Linked DNA regions of Homo sapiens: all the other regions are linked to region 1. Evidence: promoter capture Hi-C in human tissues and cell types (Jung and others, 2019). All regions are on one chromosome and are shown on one strand. The core of a region is centred on a gene start or on the middle of the fragment in contact, and the rest is flanking DNA. Distances in the headings are between cores, read along the strand shown. Region 1 holds the start of TRIM22 (tripartite motif containing 22). Region 2 overlaps PPFIBP2 (PPFIB scaffold protein 2). Region 3 holds the start of ZNF214 (zinc finger protein 214). Region 4 has its middle 4.9 kb from the start of OR51D1.

Region 1 (5,450 bases), core at 767-3,266:
ATATGGGTGACATAGGCATCAAGGTACAAAATGCTCAGCGATAAGATCGAGATAAGACTCAGGAGAAATTACCAACTCCTTGCCTTAGCTCTGTGCAAGGGAAAATTGAGTAGGGAGTTGAGGTAACTCATGATGAAAAGGTGTACCTAGAATAATAGCAACTTCTAAAACAGGAGTGGATACCAGAGGTTCATTGGGTGCTACAGAAGTTGAGGGAGGAGACCACCTCTCATATTGTCTTATGCCCAATTTCTGCCTCCAAAGAAAGAAAAAGTAAAAACTAAAAGGCAGAAATGAAATCCACAAGCAGACAGCCCGGGGCCACACCCTGGACCTGGTAGTTAAAGATGGACCCCTGACCTAATTGGTTTGTTATCTATAGATTCCAGACATTGTATAGAAAAGCACTGTGAAAATCCCTACTCTGTTTTGTTCCGATCTAATTACCGGTGTATGCAGCCCCCAGTCACGTACCCCCTGCTTGCTCAATCGATCACGACCCTCTCACGCGGACCCCCTTAGAGTTGTGAGCCCTTAAAAGGGACAGGAATTGCTCACTCGAGGAGCTCGGCTCTTGAGACAGGAGTCTTGCCTATGCCCCTGGCCGAATAAACCCCTTCCTTCTTTACCTCGGTGTCTGAGGAGTTTTTTCTGTGGCTGGTCCTGCTACAAAGGAAGAGTAAGCTGTGGGTACTCAGAAGAACAAGTTCCCTGTGACTGGACCTTCAGAGACAAGAGACCAAAGTGGAGCTGCAGAGATGAGCAGCAGTCTGCCCGTCCTGCGGCCTCTCTCCTCGGACTAACCAGAGGGCTGCTAATTTATCAGGAAAGCTATGGACAGCATCCAAAAAGTTACCAGAAGGCAAGTAAAAGGATAACCTTCAAAAGGGCCTTACTTCTGAAGACTGAGTACCTAAGACTCCTTCGCCTCATACCCAGATCCAGATAAGGGCTCTCATCCCTGCTGAACCTCATCATGAGGTTGCTTTATGAAAAGTGAAAACAAAGCTTCATTGCACAGGCTTCTTCGGGAGAAAGGAGGAAGGAATTTGCTGCCTCTGAATAAAAGAAAATTCTGATCCACGTTGGCAAAATGGAAAAATCAAAATGACAGAATAGGAATGTGGGGTATGATAAGGTTTCTCTTCAAATAGCCTGATCAATCCTTTATTCTTTAATTCACAGTGCCCCTCCCCACTTCACTTTTCTTCTCTTCTCTTTCCTTTCTGCTTTTGCTACATGCCTAGACATGTCACAGTACCAGGCGTTATCAGTACCAACTCACATTCCTTTCCTTATTTTGGAAGAAGATTAGTTATCTAGCTCATCACACACACCCCTTCCCCATCTCCCCTCTCTCCCTCACGTGCCCACCTTATCTAAAGAAAGTTAAAATGTTTAGCCAACTGAGTCTAGTTTAGATTGTGTGGCCGACTCCAGCCAATGGGGAAAGGGCAAAGGGGTAGGATTTGCGTCAGGAATAAAAACTTTCTTCCTCCTTTGTTCTAGTGTGCTCTCATGGCGACTGGCAAAGAAGAAGCACCCCTCTGCACAGAAATAAAATTGCTTTGCTGAGAAATCCTTTGTTTGAGTGCTCGTCTCCCTTAAGATTCTGAGCTTTATTTCCAACAAGGAAGGTGATGGAGGTACCTAGATTGAAGAAATGAATGGTCCCTCTAGGAAACAAGCAAGGCTTTTTGCTTTTGCAAACCTCTCTTCTTTAAAGGTTACCCCTCTCCCAGACTCAGTGCTTTCTTCCTCTGCCATCTCAGCAGACAGTTCACAAGCTGCCTCTTTTTGTTTATGCAGAGCAGCTTCAGAACTACAAATTAAACTCACCCAGACACAATCAATCTATTCTTCTCAAAGCCTCCCATTCTATGCTCCCACAGATTGCTCCACTCACCTTCAGTCCAAAGCAGAGGAGTCTTGAATCAGGGGAGAAGAGTGAAGGCAGGGCAGGAGCCGGTGTAAACCAGATTCACTCACCAAGCCAGAGGGCTGGTCTCCACAAATGAGTTTCCCCACAGGAGCTGAGTGAGAAACGAAAGTTAAATTCTCAGAAGTGAAAGAAAACAAAGGAAGCTGAACAAGAACTTACATAACAATAAACCCTGGGGAAAGTAATGCTACATTATGTTCTAGCATCTGCTGTACTGGCAAGGCACTCAGTCACTACTTCCTTATTCTTACTGTGGTTTACTCAAGCAAGAATATTTGAATAAAAAGAATGTGAATTACAGTTATACAGCTTGCCTGAATACTTAGAATTCCAATGCAGTCCTATAATTATTAGTCGAATTTATCTTATATTTAAGACCTAAGCCAGGAAAATAAAGATCCAGAGACTTGGGACCTAGCTTCTTGAAATGCAGTCTGACGAGGAAGATACTCAGTTATAAAGCTCTACAAATTTGGGCTGACAAGATGAGTATTAGCAGCTGACATTGTGAATGGTAAAAAAATTATTTTTATAAATAAAAGGATCTTTAGTGTGAGCCCATTGAAAAAAATGTTCTCAAAATGTCATTAAATCTTAAGAGTCCATCAATTAATTATCACTTCCTGCTCCTAATCCAGACAGACCAGATGAGGATGGATTCCAGAGAGTAATAGAGGTAAAACTGTGTCAGTGTCATGTTACCCAGCCACTGAGGCAGGTGAGAACATGGAAGTTAACAGATGATGCTGTTTAATTATAATCATTCATTGAGTTACTCTCATGCCTTCATAATTTTTCCACTTTTCCCTGCTTCTCTAAGAAAAGTTTGGTCATTTTTACACAATCAATTAAAAAGCAGCACTGAAACATGTTATACGTCATGCACATACTTCTGTACCCTGTTGTCTATTGTATTCTTGTTTAACTGCATGTGCCAGATAATGCCATCAAAAACTGATGGAGGCCTGTGGTGTCTCATGCCTGTAATCCCAGCACTCTGGGAGGCCCAGGTGGGTGGATCACTTGAGTCCAGGACTTCAACACCAGCCTGGGCAACATGGTGAAATCCCATCTCTAAGAAAAATTAAAAAAAAAAAAATAGCTGGGTGTGGTGATGTGCACCTGTAGTCCCAGCTACTCAGGAAACTGAGATGGGAGGATGGCTTGAGCCCAGGAGGTGGAGGTTGCATTGAGCCAAGATTGCGTCATTGCACCATAGCACTGCAGCCTGGGTGACATAGTAAGACCCTGTCTCTACAAAAAACAAACAAACAAACACCACACAACACATACACACACACACCCAAAAAAAAAGAAAAAAAAAGGCAACTCATGGAGCTTCCATAACATGGATCCCTGACTGACACTATGGAGCATGGCCATCTTCATACTTTAATCAATGATACACATGTAGGATGACTGAGAAATCAATGTTTATTATTTCAATAATAGATATTTTGGTATTATTTGTTGCTCACAGAATAATAAGCTAATCCTGGCTATAAATTCTTTCCTACTCACTTATATCTATGAGGACCTTATTCAATCAGCTGAAAGCCAGAATAGAAGAAAAAACTGACTTCTCCCCGAGAAGAGGGAATATTACCAGCAGGCAAACCTCAGGCGTGAGCTATAACGTTGACTCCTTCTTGGATCCAGAGCCTCTTGGCCTACCTTGCAGACTTTGGATTTGCCAGTCTCCAGAATCACCTGAGACATTTCTCAAGTTTCTTTCCAAATAAATTCATAGTTTAGTGGTTCTATTGCTATGATGAACCTTGACTAAGACAGGCGTGAAATTTTCTTATTTCTTCTTGAAGATAAATAAGCAAGAGATGTAATTTTAGGTATATTCCATGTTTGAATAGAATATCTTGTTGACATTTGTAGGGGAGTGAGCGCTCAGTGAGTGAATGTGTTTTTTCTGGAGTGCACAGAGTGGAGTCCGAGTGTCAACCACAATGGACAAAGTGAATGAACTCATTTATCCAGAGACCTGTTCTCTGTCCATTATTTCTTCCCTTCTCAGCACTTCCATAGATCTCATAGCCATCCTTTTATTCTCGTCTGGCTTTGAACATCTGAAGTGAACTTTCATCCTGGTCTGATTTATCTCATGAAGTATTAATTGCAGCTGAGAGAAAACAGTAGTAATATTAGGTCCTGACAAGATACCAGAAAACGTGGGCCAATAGAAAAACTGAATGCACCACACACAGTTTATCACCAGAGTAGAGCATGTTGGCAGGCTCCATATTCTAACCTATGTTCTAAATTGTAGAAAAAATATATTATTGTTGGAGCTCTGTGTTTTCTCTGTAAACCCTTTTTTTTTTTTTTTTTTTTGAGACGGAGTCTCGCTCTGTCGCCCAGGCCGGACTGCGGACTGCAGTGGTGCGATCTCGGCTCACTGCAAGCTCCGCTTCCCGGGTTCACGCCATTCTCCTGCCTCAGCCTCCCGAGTAGCTGGGACTACAGGCGCCCGCCACCGCGCCTGGCTAATTTTTTGTATTTTTAGTAGAGACGGGGTTTCACCTTGTTAGCCAGGATGGTCTCAATCTCCTGACCTCATGATCCACCCACCTTGGCCTCCCAAAGTGCTGGGATTACAGGCGTGAGCCACCGCGCCCAGCCTGTAAACCTTATATATCCTGCTTTCCTGCTTGAAAAGGAATCAAATGAAATATCTCTACCTTTGGGTCCATGGATATTTAACATTTTTCTCTTCAAGAAAAAGAGCAAAATAAGAGTAAATATGGTTAGAGTCTGAATAATACTTAGGAAGAAAACAGAGAGGATATTTTAAAAAATCGTTTAAAATTTGTTTAAAAATTTACATAATTACTTTTTTTTTTTTTTTTTTTTTTTTTTTTTTTTTTTTTTTTTGAGACAGAGTCTCACTCTATTGCCCAGGCTGGAGTGCAGTGGCATGATCTCGGCTCACTTCAACCTCCACCTCCCGGGTTCACGCAATTCTCCTTCCTCACCCTCCTGAGTAGCTGGGATTACAGGCATCTGCCATTACACCTGGCTAATTTTTGTATTTTTCGTAGAGATGAGGTTTCACCATGTTGGTCAGGCTGGTCTCAAATTCCTGACCTCAAGTGATCCACCCGCCTTGGTCTCCCGAAGTGCGAGGATTACAGGTGTGAGCCACTGCAAATGTAATCATTACATAATTATTACTAATGCCACATAATTATTACTAAATAACAATTAGTAATATTAATTATAATTGTAACTATTAATAATTGTAATTATTAATAATACTAATTATTATAATTATTACTATAATTATTACTGCCACATAATTATTACTAATGCCAGAAGAATATTTGAATTAAACTAGGTGACACAGCAGTTATCTTTACAGCAAGAATAGAACAGAAATGTGACATCAAGATATTCAATTAAAATTAGATTAATAGCTATATATCTTCATATCTATTTAAATATTACTCCTTATATACACCATATTCTAGTAAATCTGAGACAATAAAGAACAAAA
Region 2 (5,450 bases), core at 1,047-3,546, 1.8 Mb before region 1:
CTGTAGCCCTCATCCAGCCATCTGAGTCCCCGATCCTGACTCTACACCGGACCCTGCTTGGATGAGGTCCTCATGGCTGGTTGCCTTCCCTAGCTAGCTGTTCCCTGTACCCCCATCCCCACTCCAACACTATAAGAGGCAACTTCTCATGAACTGGCTGGATGTGCCCTGAAGTCTGGGTAGAGGAGGTGTTTGGGCCTTGGAATACAACTTCCCATGGAATTGATAAATTGATTGGTGGTTACATTCCCAGAAGAAAATTAATACACGTGCCCACATTGAGCATAATAAGTATAAGAGCGCTGATACCCTAAAAGTACTTCATATCTCCCATCAGCCCCACATACAGCTAGGCCACAGGGCAAAAAGGAGGCCTCATGAGCCTTCGGGCCCCCATGGCATTGGCAACTAGCAGACATTTCCCATCTGGGTGCTTGACCTATAAGACTCCAGCCTTAGCTGTTCTGCAGGCTGAATTCACCCCAAACCTGGTCTCATTCCCATTTTTCATTGCCTAATGGAATCTCCATCTCGACCTTCTGGCAGCTCTCCTCTGGCTAAACTCATGTGCTACAGAAGATAGAAGCCCAGGCCATAATGCCAGTAGACCTGGGTTCTACAATCAAGAGCTAAGTGATCTTGGGTAGGTTTCTCTGGGCTTCACCATCCTCTTATGGGTAAACATATAAAGGGCAAGCAAGAAACTACCCGAGGCTCCCTTCTGATTCCAAAAGAATCAACCACTTTCATTTCCCTTCCCCCTTCCACTAAGTTCCTCCATGCTTTCATGCTACTAACAGTTGCCTCATTCTTCTCCCAGCAAACTAACACACGTCAGTATCCAGTTTGACGCTTTTCTCTTTCCCTCAAATACAATCAGTCACCAAATCCTGCCGGATTTCTTGGCATGGTCACTTGCCTCTGCTCCCTTCTCTCTATTCCTACTGCCATTGCCTTGATTTAGGTCCTGAGCTACCTCAGTGGGTTATTCTAACAGCCTGTGCTCATAAGAAGTTCCTCCCTGTCCCTCCAACCTGCCCTTCCCAGCCACAATCATCCTGAACAGTTTTACCACGTCTTTTCCATACTTGAGTATGGAAACTTTAATGTCATCAGAATAAAATTTAAATTATATAGCTCCAACTTTCAAGGCCTTCCATGATCTCTTCCCAGCCTGGGACTCCATCTTCACCTCTCCCAGTGTCCACCCAACCCCCTGACTCTAGCCATATGGGCCCACTCTTCACTGGGCCTGTCCTTCCTCCCAGTCTTTCAGCTTCTGCTCCTCTTCCTTCTCTCGTCTACCATACGAAATAACCAGCCCCTTTCCCTCTTTACTGAGGTAAACATTGCAAAGCCAGCCAGCTTAAGGCCCATATCTACCACAGACTCCTCCTGGACATCTGCTAAGTGTGGGGCCACGCACAAGAGCTGATACAGCCCTAAAGCAGCTCAGAGTTTGGAGGAATATGGACAGAGACATAGACATAAAGTGATGAAATAGCATAGCAGATCTTTGTTTGATGTGATATGTATGTAACAGAAGAGTAAAAACGACTTAGGGGCAAGGGAGCTTTAAGAATTTGATCTATATCCTGAAGGATTAATAATCTTGCAGAATAGAGACAAAAGGGCTTTCCAGGAAGATAAAATAGTGTATGCAAATGCAGATAGGCACAAAAGAATAGAAATTACTCAGCTTCTCAGTTTGGGGAACAGTGGAGAGGCAGCTGGAGAGCTAAAGTAGGGCCCACCACTGTAGAGATTTGAATGCCATACAAGGATGGTGTATTTTATCCTATCAGAGAGACAGTCCTATTCCTTCTGTGTCTAGGCCTCCCATCTACAGGTATGTTAGGGATCATGATTACTATGCAACATAGAACAGGGTGATTAAAAGCATCAAGCACAATGAATGCTCAGCTTTCAGTGTGCATAAATGTGTACATATGAACATGACAGAGAGAGGAAGTGAAAGTAAGAATAACCAGGGAGAACCAAGCCAACGACCTTAAGGCAAACAGAAATCATACATTTGCTGAAGACAAAGCTCGGAGTCAGCAGTCCCCTGGAACTTGAGGCACTAAGGAGATCTGGGCCTAAAGCTAAACAGATTATTCTAGGACAGCCTCTTTTAGAGGCTTATTTACCAGATGAGTGAGAGATAAGAATGAAGCTTGTGAAGATCCACAGTCAAACAAGACTTGGCTTTAAGGGTGTATAAAGGATAAAGCCCACCTTTCCTAGAACTACATAGATTCCATGAAGACAGAGACACATAGGTGCCATCAAGCATTGGAACCAAAAAATGATACTAAGAAACATAAAGTCCAAGGGAGGTGGAGCTCCTCTGAAGAAGAAGGACGCAGGGAAAATAGTGACTCAGGAATAAACAAAGCTGCCAAAAGTTTCAGCCTAGTTGTGCCCACACCAAATGGGGACTGAATGTCACATCTTGAATGGGGATGAACAGGCTGTAGAATGGAACAAGTGTTATCAGTTGTGTTTATATTAGTGCTTCCTTCTTATATTTTGCATTAGGATATCCACCAGAGGATTTCAAACACGACAGCATCATGAACAGATTTGCATTTCAGGAAAAAAAAAAAAAAAATCTTATGGCCAAGTAAAAAACCACTTCTAAACTGAAAAATTCTCCCTGGGGTCTGAAAGGTTGAAGAGATGAGTAACTCCTCTCTTCTCAGGCCCAGTCCCAAGGTGCAAGGCCAGTTGTGCTAGCAGCGTGCGTCGGCAAAACAGCAAAAGCAGGAAAAGAGCCAGCCGGAAAATACCCACCCCAACCGGAAGACACGTACCCCCTGAAAACCAAAAGGGAGGCCGTCTGGGTACCACGTAGCAGCTACCTCAAACTGAGACACTTCTTGTTTACAGGAGACTGTAAAACCCCTGCCCTGTCCTCATTTGGTGCTGATGCCATTTTAGGCCTCAGCCTGCCTGCACCCAGGCGCTCATTAAAACAGCATGTTGCGCCATACCGCCTCGTGTTGTCTGTTGGAGCGCTCTCAGGGTTTGAACCAATACAAGAACTTTTCATCTGGTGCCGAAACCTGGGAGAGGCTCGGGTCTGTGTCCCCCGTGGACCTACCCCTCTATGCTGGAAAGCAGGCCACAGCAGCTGGACAAAGGAAGCTCCTTAGCCTCCAGTCGCCTCTCTGTGCATGCAGATCAGTCACTGATCTCACCTACTGGTAAGCTTCCCCGGGAACCTGGTTAACAGGGAAAAACGTGCTCGGCCTCTTTTGGTTTCTCTGGTCCGAAAATCCAACGTTGGTCCAAAAAGGCTCCAGCGTGTGCCAGGCACTCGCTGATCATCTGGTCTTAGGGGGACACCTCTAAGCCATTTGATCCCGTTCCAGGAATGAAAAAGGCAGTGGTGACGATCGCTCCTTTTATCGTCTCCGTCCGGCTGTCCAGGACTGTCTCCTTTTTCCCTGTTCTCCTGTGCCTACCCTTCATTATGGGAAACTCCCGGCCCTCCATTCTAAAAAACAGCCCTCTAGGCTGCCTCATAAAAAACCTGCAAACCTTAGGCCTCAGGCAAGATATCCGCCCTAAGCGCCTTTTCTTTTTTTGCAATTCAGTCTGGCCACAGTACAAATTAGATAACGGTCCAAATGGCCGGCAAATGAAACATTCGACTTTACAGTTTTAACTGATTTAAGCAAGTATTGCCAACGACCGAAGAAATAGGAAGAAATTCCTTATTTCCAGGCCTTTTGGCACTCAGATCACAACCCGACCTCTGCAATTCTTGCTCACCTGTTCAAATCCTTCTCCTCCATTCTCGCAGCCCTGATCGCCTTTCTCCTCCCGACCATACCTCTTTTTCCCCGTTAGATCCAGCAGACTGCTGTCCATTCCTCCCAGACTCTACCTCTCCCTCTCAACCATCTTCTTTAACCCCGCAAGCCTCCTCTTTATCTTCTCAGCCGCAATCTTCTCAGCTGCCATCTTCCCAGTCGCCATCTTCTCAGCTGCCATCTTCCCAGCCACCATCTTCCCAGTCAGCAGTACCCACTTCTTTTCCTACACTGTCCTCTCCTGAGGACAACTCTAGCACTGCCTGTACTCATTCTCCTTCCTCACTGCCCTCTCCTGAAGCCTGTAAACCCATCCCGCCACCTTACGCCCCTATCTGTCCTCCACTGCTTATCAACTCAAACCCCCTTTCCCCTTCAAACCCTCAGCAGGAACGACTTCTGACTTCTTCCTTCTCTCCCGCCCATACTCGCTCGAGCGCCATCTTTGGCTCATGCCCCACCCTCACTTCAGCGCCAGTGCTAGAGTGTCCCCTTTGGGAAGTAGCAAGAGCTGAAGGTATTGTTAAGAGTTCATGTTCCCTTCTCCCTCACTGATCTCTCTCAAATTAACAAAAGACTCGGTTCATTTCCAGACGACCCTACCTCTTATATCAGGGAGTTTCAGTACCTTACCCAGTCTTATGAACTAACTTGGCATGACCTCTACGTTATCCCCTCTTCCACCCTCACCCCAGAAGACCAGGACTGTGTCTGGACCCTAGCTCAGGTGCATGCTGACACAATTCATCAACAAGCTCCTGCCAAGCCTACTGGTGCAGAGGCAGTCCCCAACCAGGACTCCCACTGAGATTATCAAGACAGGGCCTCTAGATGCTGCCATCGAGACCACACGATTATGTGTTTCCTTGCAGAACTCAAAAAGGGTGCCCATAAAGTGGTAAACTATGAAAAACTTCCAGAAATCACCCAAAGTCCTGACAAAAACCCAGCCCTTTTTCTCTCTCATGTAACTGAAGCCATGAGAAAATATACCAACCTAGACCCAGCCAACCCAGAAGGAACCACTATCTTAAACCTTCGGTTCATCTCCCAATCCATTCCCGATATTCGGTGCAAGCTTCAGAAGCTTGACGACGGCCCTCAAACCCCACAACAAGACCTTCTTAATTTAGCCTTCAAAGTCTTTAACAATCATGATGAGGAAAGTAAAAGGCAAAAACAGGCAGAGTTTCAAATGCCTGCCTCCGCCATCAGGGGCCCTGCAGGCCCACGGGGCCACAGCTCCACACAGAAGCCTCCTAGCAATCCACCTCCACCTGGCGCCTGTTTCAAGTACGGCAATGAAAGCCACTGGTCCAGACAATGCCCATACCCAGGTAAGCCCACCAGGCCGTGCCCCCTCTGCGGAGGACCCCACTGGAAGTCGGACTATGAGCGGCCCCTGCAGGGACCGCCCCCCATCCCTTCCTGAGCAGGCCAAAACCTCCTACTCGGATCTCATTTGCCTTGCCGCTGAAGACTGATGGTGCCCTGGAATGGATGCCCCGGCAACTACCATCACTTCATCCGAGCCAAGGGTAACCCTGATGGTTTTAATCAACATGGGTGACCTACTCTGCTTTACCTAATTTTTCAGGACCCACCCAGTCCTCCTAAGTCTCTGTTGTG
Region 3 (5,450 bases), core at 960-3,459, 1.3 Mb before region 1:
AGATTCCCTTTTCATCAGGATCTTGGCCCCTAAATCCCTTGCTGTCTTGTCAGACTTGACTCCAATTTTTGTTCTTAGTTATGTGACATTAACCAAAATTATGGAAAATTCTATGCCTTCAAGCCACAGTCATATTCTTAGATTCTTCAATTATTTGCTATGAAGAATCTGCAACATCTTGGACTAGGAACTTGGGCTATCCCTCTCTTCCCATGCAAGGCAGTTTCTTCACTCCTACCCTGGGTACATCTCTAGGCATCTGGTGACTGCTCCCAGGACCCCCATCAAAGCTGGTGCTTTGGGTCTCTGCACATTCAAGCCAGGGAGGGTCCATGACCAATAATTTTCAAAATGTAGCTTCCAGAGTCATAAAAAATGCAGATGCTCACTGTGTGGTGGACGGAGGCAGATAGGCTCTAGGCCGGGCACCCCTGCTAAACCCCAAACTGTAACTGGGTAGAATTCATTCCTAAAAGTCTTGCGTATGCTATACTTGGTGCTCTTTGTTATTCATATTGGCCTCTGCCCTTTAGCAGGTATATTCCTTCAGATACACATTTTGTTTCTCTGAAAACTGGATCCTCTTAGCTTTTTTTTTTTCTTTTAATTTTGGTTAGTTCAATGAGGTTCAGGTAATATTCTCAGGTTGGAAGCAGTGTGGCAGAACAGCCCACTTCCAGTGTTCGTTCTTACCGGTCAATGTCTCTGCATTCAGTAATTCAACTATCAATTGCGGCTATTTAAATACATTGCTTTTTAATGTATTTAAATAGCCGCAATTGATAGTTGAATTACTGAATGCAGAGACAGATTTAATGGGTGCAGCACACCAACATGGCACATGTATACATAGGTAACAAACCTGACCTGGACGTTGTGCACATGTACCCTAAAACTTACAGTATAATAAAAAATAAATAAATAAATACATTGCAATTTACAGGTGAAAATACTTAAGGGTGAGCGGTTAAACAACTTGCTTACCACCACCTAGTGGATAACAATGATTGACAGCTCTTAATGTCAGTTCCGTCAGACAACAAAGCCCACATTTTTAAAATGCTATGCTATGCTCTCTGAATGTTCAAACCAGGGAAGGCCCACGCCCAGTAATTTTCAAAATGTGGTCTCCAGAGTCATAAAAAATGCAAGAGCTTATTGTGTGGTGAACTCAAGCAGATAGGCGCTGGGCCACCCACCCCTGCTAAACACCAAACTGTAAATATATAGTTCACAAGACTACTTCCTATGTGCAAGGGGCTGGTTTAAGCATTTTAACTACACTAACTCATTTCAATCTAACAAGTCTGTTACATAGTTACTATTATTATTGGCTATCAATATTACGCCTATTAAGCTGATGCTTAAAGGTTAGGTAATCCAGCCAAGATCTCGTAAGTGGTGTTGTCAGATTTGAATCCAAGGAGTCCCTTGCTTGTAATGACTATCCTACCAAAAGTTCCTTGCCTAATAAAATGTTTGAATATTACTGATCCAGCCCAAGTTTGAAGGACAGGGCCCAAAGATGCGAAAGTATTTTCCTAATATAACACACTCAGCTAAATAATAGAACAGGCTCTTGCAACTCTCTGTGGTCCCAGGACACTGAGGAGGGGCTCCTTCTCATGGCTTCATTTCAGCTCCACTGTGCGTTTCCCTTCTCTGCCTGGAGTCTCCAGAGGAGCCTGGGATTTGGCAAGAAGGCGGGAGGGAGGAAAGCCTCACTGGACCAGGAACGAAGAGGGTGTCTGGCAACAATAGGACGGAATTTGAAAACCTCTAACCTTGAGTTTAGAGCGATGCTAGCTAGTGCCAGGGCTAGTGAGGTGCCCATTCCGCCAAGGCGCGGGACAGCGAGGACAACCACGCCTTGCCAACCAAAGGCGACCTGACAGCGTTTCCTCGGGGTCGTCGCGGTGGTGAGGGTCACAGAATTCTCCGAAGCCAGTAGCTCCGTTTCCAGCCACGCCCCCTTTCCCAGGGCCCTAAAAGCTTCGGGAGTTCTCCTATTCCATTAATGCTGGTGCGTCCTCGCCTTATCCCCCGAGCGCCCGCAGCTCCCGCCCGCGCAGGAATGCCAGCGGCCAAAGGTCGGGAGGCGCGGGATACTTCTGGCCAATCAGGAGTCACGTTTTCCCGCGCTCTCTCTTCCCGCCCCGCCCCTCCCGTATCCATGGAAACACTGCGAGTGTCTACTCCAAGACCTGGGACTTCCGTTTCGGTCCAGCCGGGCTGCGGCCATTGTTTGTGTGGACTGAGTGTTTTGGCCATCCCGGTCCACTCTCACAGGCTCCGTTAAGTGACATGAACTCTCAGGAGGACTGAGCCAGAAGCGGACAGGGCAAGACGAGCTGTGCTTGAAGGAAGAGGGGCAGAAAATCGAGGGTCAGGGACTGAGAAGCTACTCCGGTTTAGAAACCCCAGAGACACCCGTGTAGATGGGTACATCACGGCTTCTCTCCCACGTTAAGACTTAATAAAGGCAAGTAGAGGAGGGCAGAAGCAGCTTGGGCCCCGGGGTATGGGTGCCCGGTGTTCGGTGCCGGGGCAGAGTTCTGGCCGGGGATCTGGATAAGCAACGGAGGCCGCGCGCGTCTTCAGTGCAGGAGCAGGGGACCCCCGGGTCTGTGGCGGAGACCGGGAGATCCCGCTCCTAGAGAACCGTTCGTGTGTCTGGTTCTCTGGTGCTTACACTTGGGCAGCCCGTGACGCGTTGGGGGAGCCCAAACCTGTCCTGCTCTTGGGGCACGCATGAAACGTTTTTTCCCTAGAGAAAGAGGGTTAACTAATTGCTTATTACTTTGCCCAGGAACCTACCTTTGATCAGCAAGGAAGGACTGGGGTGGCAAAGGCTCATGCCCCCATTTTACAGGTAAGGAAACTGAGATCTTGGAGATCTATAAGTTTGGTCCTCTTTAAAGTTCTACAAGTGCTTGATGGCACAGTTGAGACTTTGATCAGGACCTGGGAGCTCCAGTTCTGGGATACTTCTCTAAGACTCCAGGTACTTTTCTGATAGTAAATCCAGTATTCCTGTTTAGCAAGTAGGGGAGGACAATGGAATGATTTTCTACTTAAACTGAACAAAATAAGAAAAATACCTTGAGAATAGATACTATTTAAGTGTGCTGGTGCTTTCCTATTATTGTTAGTAGTAATAATAATCTCAATAAATAAGTGAGTTGTATCTTTTGAAGTTTCTAGAGGGTTGGAAATAAATTTCAAGGTGCCAGTGTTCATAGCTCTCCTTTCTGGTCGTTGAAAGGAAACAAGAGCATTCATAGGCTTCTTTTGGACCTCTTGCTAGGAGATGTGTGCGTCATACCCAGTTAGTATATGGGAAATTTAATGAATTTGGGAATTTAAAGCCATACCCAGGTTTTCAGTCTGCCTTCCTCCTCAGCTCAGCCGTCTCAGCACTCTACCCTTCCCCAGAAGAGGAACACAAAGGAGGAAGGAATGTACACTGTTTCCCTCATAGTCTGATCCCAAGTGAGGATGATTGTCTTTTCTCATTTACAAAATGTCCCTGCATTCTCCATGGGTGGTGGAGGTGGCAATGAGGATGGATGGATGACTGGACAGAAAACGTTCCTCGCTTGCCTGTGAAATTTTCGAGCGTGCAGACTTGACCCTGCCCCAACCCAGTGTCTTTTCCCAACATTTACTCATTCATTCATTCAGTCACTCAAGTCTAGTGTATAATTCATGCTGTTCTTGGTGTTCTGAGATAAAGAATTATAAGAATGTCATCGCCAGGCGCGGTGGCTCACGCCTGTAATCCCAGCACTTTGAGAGGCCAAGGTGGGCGGATCACTTGAGGTCAGGAGTTTGAGACCAGCCTGGCCCACATGGTGAAACCTCGTCTTTACTATAAATACAAAAATTAGCCAGGCATTGTGGCAGGCACCTGTAATCCCAGCTACTCAGGAGGCTGAAGCAGGAGAATTGCTTGAACCCGGGAGGCTGAAGTTGCAGTGAGCCAGGATGGCACCACTGCACTCCAACCTGGGCAACAGAGGAAGACTCCCTCTCAAAAAAAAAAAAAAAAAAAAAAAAGTCTTAACATTGGGGGTAATAAACTATATGAGATTAATAATAATTTCTGAAGTTATCGACATTAAACAGTGCCAGAATGAGTGGCACTTAAAACACAGCAACAGAAACTCAGATTTGAACAATTATGAGTAGGAAGATATTCTAAATAGGAAAGCCATCATTTACTCTCAGGTACAATTTGAGGGAACAAATAAGGAAACCAGGCTAGTGACAGGGAAGTGAAACATGAATGTATAAAGCCACATTGTGGAAGGCAATTAATGTTTAAATTTGTTATTTATTCTTGTGCATCTCTTCACATGAACCATATTGACAGCCATTGTTGACCTTTGGGTGTATTTACTTGTAGTCTTTTATTTAATACTTATTGTATATATGTACTCACTAGTCTGTACAAATACTGATATGTATGTATACATGTTCATACACATGTACAAATATAAACTTAGGTATATGCACACACGTATATAAAAAGATTAGTATATATAAAACATTAAATTAAAAAATTTGACTCATGACAAATAGTCTCCATGAGGGAAGGAAATGTTCCCAGTATATAGAAGTGTACTGTGCGTATACTAAGCACTCAGTAAATATTTATTCAATGTATGAATAGCTGTTATTTGTATACGTTTTTCACTTAACATATAATGAGCATTTTTCCAAGCATGTTTTGGTAGCATGAGTTTTAATGACTGTATAGTGTTCCATTCTAGGTATATAGTATGCTTTATTTAAGTTTGCTTTTTTTTTTTTTGAGACGGAGTCTCGCTCTGTCGCCCAGACTGGAGTGCAGTGGCATAATCTCGGCTCACTGCAACCTCAGCCTCCCTGGTTCAAGCAATTCTCGTGCCTCAGCCTCCCGAATAGCTGGGACTACAGGTGCACGCCACCATGCCCAGCTAATTTTTTTGTATTTTTAGTAGAGATGGGGTTTCACCGTGTTGCCCAGGCTGGTCTTGAACTCCTGAGCTCAGGCAATCTGCCCACCTTGGACTCCCATTAAGTTTGCTTTTTACTGGGGAAAATTTAAGTATTTCCCAATATGTTGTTGTTATAAATATCTTATAATAAATATTCTTATACATAATTTGTTAAGTATATGTCTTTTTATTTTCTCAAGATATACTCTGAGAAATAGGAAAACAGAATCAAAGGATATAAGCATGTTTTAGGCTTTTGAAAAACTGAAGTTCTCTTTTAGAAATGTTATGTGAACTTGAACTCCTACAACCATTTGATGAATGATTCTATCTTACTGAGCCTTTGCCAGCACTGAGTATTAAGTTTTAAATTTTGCCTTGATTTGCATCCTTTTTAATCCTTAGTAGGGTTGACTTTTTCACATATATTCGTTGACTCTTTATATTCCTTCTTTGATGAATTGCCTT
Region 4 (5,450 bases), core at 755-3,254, 1.1 Mb after region 1:
CATTTAACGTTGTGATATTATTTTTCATACTTATGAACATATCTTCGTATCTTTGTAGGGAGGGTGGACACTAATGTGTATGTATAAAAGGAAACGTGAACAGAGTCCTCTTCTATCCACTCTTAAGGCAGAAATTATTGGTCTTGTTGATCTGCACTCATACCTCACAACTCTATGACTTCAACTGAGGCATGTTTAATGGGCAGGCCGCTTAAATTATTATTAATATTAATAACATTATGTACCTAGTTGGCGTAATTTCCACAGGCACTTTTCAAGCATTCATTTTTTTTTCTCTTTTTACAGTATTAAGAATAGATCTTATTAAGGTGACCCAAAGTATGACTTTAAAAATAATAGTTTTCCCTCTACTTATATTTCAATATTTTTTGAAGGAAAGAAGGGAGGAAAAATCACTCAATGTAAATGGAATGCTAAAGGTCCAATGGATAACGGAGAGCTTTGGCCAAACATATACTCATGGCTTAGGAGGTCCTAAAAGATATGAACTTGCCTAATTCGACAGCCCCATCTCATGACACCTCAACTCTCCCTCAATACGGCCCTGCATTGGCATCTTTCTAGTTCCTTAAATAAAGTTCTCTATCTGTACACCTTCTTCTAAGCATTTGCTCAAATGCTTGTTTTATCTGGAATGGTCAACCTCTTTGTTTCCCTCCTCTAAAAACTAACATTTATTTAGATTCTGTTTTAGGTGCTATTTCTATAAGAAGGTCTTTCCTGTAAGATGTTTTCTTGTTTCTTTAGTATCCAAATTTCATTTTTAGATGACCAATGCCATTGTTTTTTGTTACGAGATAATGATATGTGTGTCACACACAAATCCCTACAACCTCCCATGAAAAGAAAGAGTGTAATGGTACCTAAAGATAAAAATGATTCCTTGTGTTAATAACCTGTTATAAAGCAAGAAAAAGAAACATGATATGAGAGTTAGAAAATGAAATTAGTCATTATTTGTAGATTAGTGATTGTATATGTAGAAAATCCAAAAGACTGTATTGATAAGTTATTAGAAATGAGTATGTAAAGATTGCTGAATACAAGGTCAACTTACAAAATTCCACTGTATTTCTTTATAAAATTTTTAAGCATTTACAATAACAGAAAAATCAGATGTCTAAGAGTGAATCTAACAAAGAATGTAGAGGAATTTCTGCACAGAAAACCACAAAGCATCCTTAAAAGACACTGAAGAAGACCTAAATAAATGGAAGAAAACACTATTCTTTTTAACTGGAAAACTCGATAATGTGAAGAATCTACTTAGCCCCCAAATTTTTCCATAGAATCAATACATTCCCAATAATATCCTAATTGGTGATTGTGTAAAATTTGGTAAGCTTGATTAAAATATACATAAAAATGTAAATTGCCAAAATTAGCCACAAAACTCTAGAAGAATAGGACAAAGTGAGATTTTATATACTAAATATCAAAAATTTAAAAACTATAGTAATTATGCATATGTGGTATTTGTTCAGGGATAGACAGTTGAGCCAATGAATGGAAATAAAATTTCAGAAGTATGCCCACTCATACACAGCCAGTTGTTAAATGACAAAGGTAATTCTGTGAGGCAATCAGAAAAGGAGAATTTTTTTATTAAATGATACTACAATAACTGAATATCCATATAGAAGAAAATAAAATTTGAACCCTAAATTCACACTACTTATAAGAATTAAATCTTTGTGGTTTTCATATATAAGTACAAAAGGCAAAGCAATTAGCCTTCCTGAAGTAATATAAAAGAATATTTTTATGACCTCAAGTAAAGATTGACTTCTTAATGCAGTTAATTCATCCATGAATATTTATTGAGTGCCTAATATATGACAGGTACTCTTCTAAGTGATGGAAACACTTTAATGAACAGAACAGACAAACTCTCCTGCTTTTGTGGAGCTTACATGCCAGCCAGTATGATTTAGCTTTCCTCTGTAGGTATATCTGTCTAGATGCATGCCAGATAGTTTTTTTTTTCACTTGCAGTTTATAAATTTCATTAGGAATTATCTAGAAATAGATCTTTTATTTTATAAATAAGTGAGCATGGCATATCTCCAAATGCTAGTGAAGATGCAGAGAAACAACCTCTAATGCATTGCAGGCGAGAATGTAAAATGGCACAACTACTCCGGAAAATAGTTTAGTAGTTTTTTTTTATTAAATTTTAAGTTTTGGGATACATGTGCAGAACATGCAGGTTTGTTACATAGGTATACATGTGCCATGGTGGCTTGCTGCATCTATCAACCATTATCCAGATTTTAAGTCCCACATGCATTAGGTATTTGTCCTAATGTTTTCCCTCCCCTTGCCCCTCGCCCACTGACATGCCCGGGTGAATGATGTTCCCCTCCCTGTGTCCATGTGTTCCCATTGATCAACTGCCACTTATGAGTGAGAATATGCAGTGTTTGGTTTTCTGTTCCTATGTTAGTTTGCTGAGAATGATGGATTCCAGCTTCATCCATGTCCCTGCAAAGGACATGAACTCATTCTTTTTTATGGCTGCATAGTATTCCATGGTGTACATGTGCCATATTTTCTTTATCCAGTCTATCATTGATGGGCACTTGGGTTGGTTCCAAGTGTTTGCTATTGTGAACAGCACTGCAATAAACATACATGTGCATGTGTCTTTATAGTAGAATGATTTATAATCCTTTGGGTATATACCCAGTAATGAGATTGCTGGGTCAAATGGTATTTCTGGTTCTAGATCCTTAAGGAATGGCCACACTGTCTTCTACAATGGTTAAACTAATTTACACTCCCATCAACAGTGTAAAAGTGTTCCACATGCTCTCCAGCATCTGTTGTTTCCTGACTTTTTAATGATCACCATTCTAACTGGTGTGAGATGGTATCTCATTGTGGTCTTGATTTGCATTTCTCTAATGACCAGAGATGATGAGCTTTTTTTCATATGTTTATTGGCCACATAAATGCCTTCTTTTGAAAAGTGTCCATTCATATCTTTTGTCCACTTTTTGATGGGGTTGTTTTTTCTTGTAAATTTGTTTAAGTTCCTTGTAGATTCTGGATATTAGACTTTGTCAAATGGATAGATTGTAAAAATTTTCTCTTATTCTGTAGGTTGCCTGTTCACTGTAATGATAGTTTCTTTTGCTGTGCAGAAGCTCTTTAGTTTAATTAGATCCCATTTGTCAATTTTGGCTTTTGTTGCCATTGCCTTTTGTGTTTTAGTCATGAAGTCTTCGCCCATGCCTATGTCTGGAATGGTATTGCCTAGGTTTTCTTCTAGGGTTTTTATGGTTTGGGGTTTTACATTTAAGTCTTTAATCCATCTTGAGTTAATTTTTGTATAAGGTGTAAAGAAGGGGTCCAGTTTCAGTTTTCTGCATATGGCTAGCCAGTTTTCCCAGTACCATTTATTAAATAGGGAATCATTTCCCCATTGCTTGTTTTTGTCAGGTTTGTCAAAGATCAGATGGTTGTAGATGTGTAGTGTTATTTCTATGGCCTCCGTTCTGTTCCTTTGGTCTATATACCTGTTTTGGTACCAGTACCATGCTCTTTTGGTTACTATAGCCTTGTAGTATAGTTTGAAGTCAGGTAGCATGAAGCCTCCAGCTTTATTCTTTTTGCTTAGGATTGCCTTGGCTATACAGGTTCTTTTTTGGCTCCATATGAAATTTAAAGTAGTTTTTCTAGTTCTGTGAAGAAAGTCAAAGTTAGCTTGATGGGAATAGCATTGAATCTATAAATTACTTCGGGCAGTGTGGCCATTTTCACAATATTGATTCTTCCTATCCATGAGCATAGAATTTTTTTCCATTTGTTTGTGTCCTCTCTCATTTCCTTGAGCAGTGGTTTGTAGCTCTCCTTGAAGAGGTCCTTCAGGTTCCTTGTAAGTTGTATTCCTAGGTATTTTATTCTCCTTGTAGCAATTGTGAATGGGAGTTCACTCATGATTTGGCTCTCTGTTTGTCTATTATTGGTGTATAGGAATGCTAGTGATTTTTGCACATTGATTTTGTATTCTGAGACTTTGCTGAAGTTGCTTATCAGCTTAAGGAGTTTTGGGGCTGAGACAATGGGTTTTTTTTTTTTTTCTTTTTTCTTTTTTTCTTTTTCTTTTTTTTTTGGCAGAGCTAGCTGAGGTTTTATTTTGGACCAAAAAAACAAAAACAAAAACAAAAACAGCAATGGAATTGTTTTGTAGCTGGAGGCATGGGCAAAGGGGTTTTCTAAATATACAATCATGTCATCTGCAAACAGAGACAATTCGACTTCTTCTCTTCCTATTTGAATACCTTTTATTTCTTTTTCTTGCCTGATTGCCCCAGCCAGAACTTCCAATACTATGTTGAATATGAGTGGTGAGAGAGGGTATCCTTGTCTTGTGCCAGTTTTCAAAGGGAATGCTTCTAACTTTTGCCCATTCCATATGATATTGGCTATGGGTTTGTCATAAATAGCTCTTATTATTTTGAGATATGTCCCACCCATCAATACCTAGTTTATTGAGAGTTTTTAGCATGAAGGGGTGTTGAATTTTACAGAAGGCCTTTTCTGCATCTATTGAGATAATCATGTTGTTTTTGTCACTGGTTCTGTTTGTGTGCTGGATTACACTTATTGATTTGTGTATGTTGAGCCAGCCATTCTTTTGCATTTGCTGAGGAGTGTTTTACTTCCACTTATGTGGTCGATTTTAGAATAAATGCTATGTGGTGCTAAGAAGAATGTATATTCTGTTGATTTGGGGTGGAGAGTTCTGTAGATGTCTATTAGGTCCGCTTGGTCCAGAGCTGAGTTAAAGTCCTGAATATCCTTGTTAATTTTCTGTCTCATTGATTTGTCTAATATTGACAGTGGGGTGTTAAAGTCTCCCACTATTATTGTGTGGGAGTCTAAGTCTCTTTGTAGGTCTCTAAGAACTTGCTTTATGAATCTGGGTGCTCCTGTATTGGGTGCATATATATGTTTAGGATAGTTAGCTCTTCTTGTTGCATTGATCACTTTACCATTATGTAATGGCCTTCTTTGTCTCTTTTGATCTTTGTTGGTTTAAAGTCTGTTTTATCAGAGACTAAGATTGCAACCCCTGCTTTTTTTTTTTCTTTTTTTTTTTTGCTTTCCCTTTGCTTGGTAAATATTCCTCCATCCCTTTATTTTGAACCTATGTGTGTCTTTGCACATGAGATGGGTCTCCTGAATACAGCACACTGATGGGTTTATCCAATTTGCCAGTCTCTGTCTTTTAATTGGGGCATTTAGCCCCTTACATTTAAGGTTAATATTGTTATGTGTGAATTCGGTCCTGTCGTCATGATGCTAGCTGCTCATTTTGCACATTAGTTGATGCAGTTTCTTCATAGTGTCATTGGTCTTTACATTTTGGTATATTTTTGCAATGGCTGATACTGGTTTTTCCTTTCCGTATTTAGTGCTTC

Evidence for each region. The method cuts DNA at HindIII sites, captures the fragments that hold promoters and counts their contacts. A contact is called where the count stands out against the background at its distance.
Region 2: a contact is called between a fragment that was not itself captured here and the fragment with the promoter of TRIM22 in region 1, in 1 of the 25 tissues and cell types used here (pancreas).
Region 3: a contact is called between the fragment with the promoter of ZNF214 here and the fragment with the promoter of TRIM22 in region 1, in 1 of the 25 tissues and cell types used here (small bowel).
Region 4: a contact is called between a fragment that was not itself captured here and the fragment with the promoter of TRIM22 in region 1, in 1 of the 25 tissues and cell types used here (small bowel).

The regions. Positions count from the first base shown.
Region 1 is chr11:5,686,356-5,691,805 of GRCh38, reverse strand. It overlaps TRIM22 (tripartite motif containing 22), which reads right to left and starts at 2,016. Exons shown (of 8, transcript NM_006074.5): 1 at 1,907-2,016. LOC124902620 (a long non-coding RNA gene) reads left to right here. Exons shown (of 2, transcript XR_007062561.1): 1 at 1-1,128; 2 at 1,510-1,579. RefSeq lists enhancers at 1,197-1,296, 712-1,911, 1,883-2,222, 1,344-2,336. The HindIII fragment of the contact is 9,408 bases long and covers 1-5,450 here.
Region 2 is chr11:7,517,671-7,523,120 of GRCh38, reverse strand. The region is part of intron 1 of PPFIBP2 (PPFIB scaffold protein 2); the gene reads right to left. The region is part of intron 1 of LOC124902806 (leucine-rich repeat extensin-like protein 5); the gene reads left to right. Among named protein-coding and RNA genes, the nearest start is that of PPFIBP2, 6.4 kb to the right of the region's middle. RefSeq lists a silencer at 1,337-1,537 and enhancers at 1,615-1,794, 1,865-1,914, 2,655-2,704, 2,735-2,844, 2,925-3,054. The HindIII fragment of the contact is 3,522 bases long and covers 536-4,057 here.
Region 3 is chr11:7,017,105-7,022,554 of GRCh38, reverse strand. It overlaps ZNF214 (zinc finger protein 214), which reads left to right and starts at 2,209. Exons shown (of 3, transcript NM_013249.4): 1 at 2,209-2,482. It overlaps NLRP14 (NLR family pyrin domain containing 14), which reads right to left and starts at 2,076. Exons shown (of 12, transcript NM_176822.4): 1 at 1,785-2,076. The HindIII fragment of the contact is 7,176 bases long and covers 418-5,450 here.
Region 4 is chr11:4,629,860-4,635,309 of GRCh38, reverse strand. No RefSeq gene overlaps it. Among named protein-coding and RNA genes, the nearest start is that of OR51D1, 4.9 kb to the left of the region's middle. The HindIII fragment of the contact is 5,020 bases long and covers 1-4,514 here.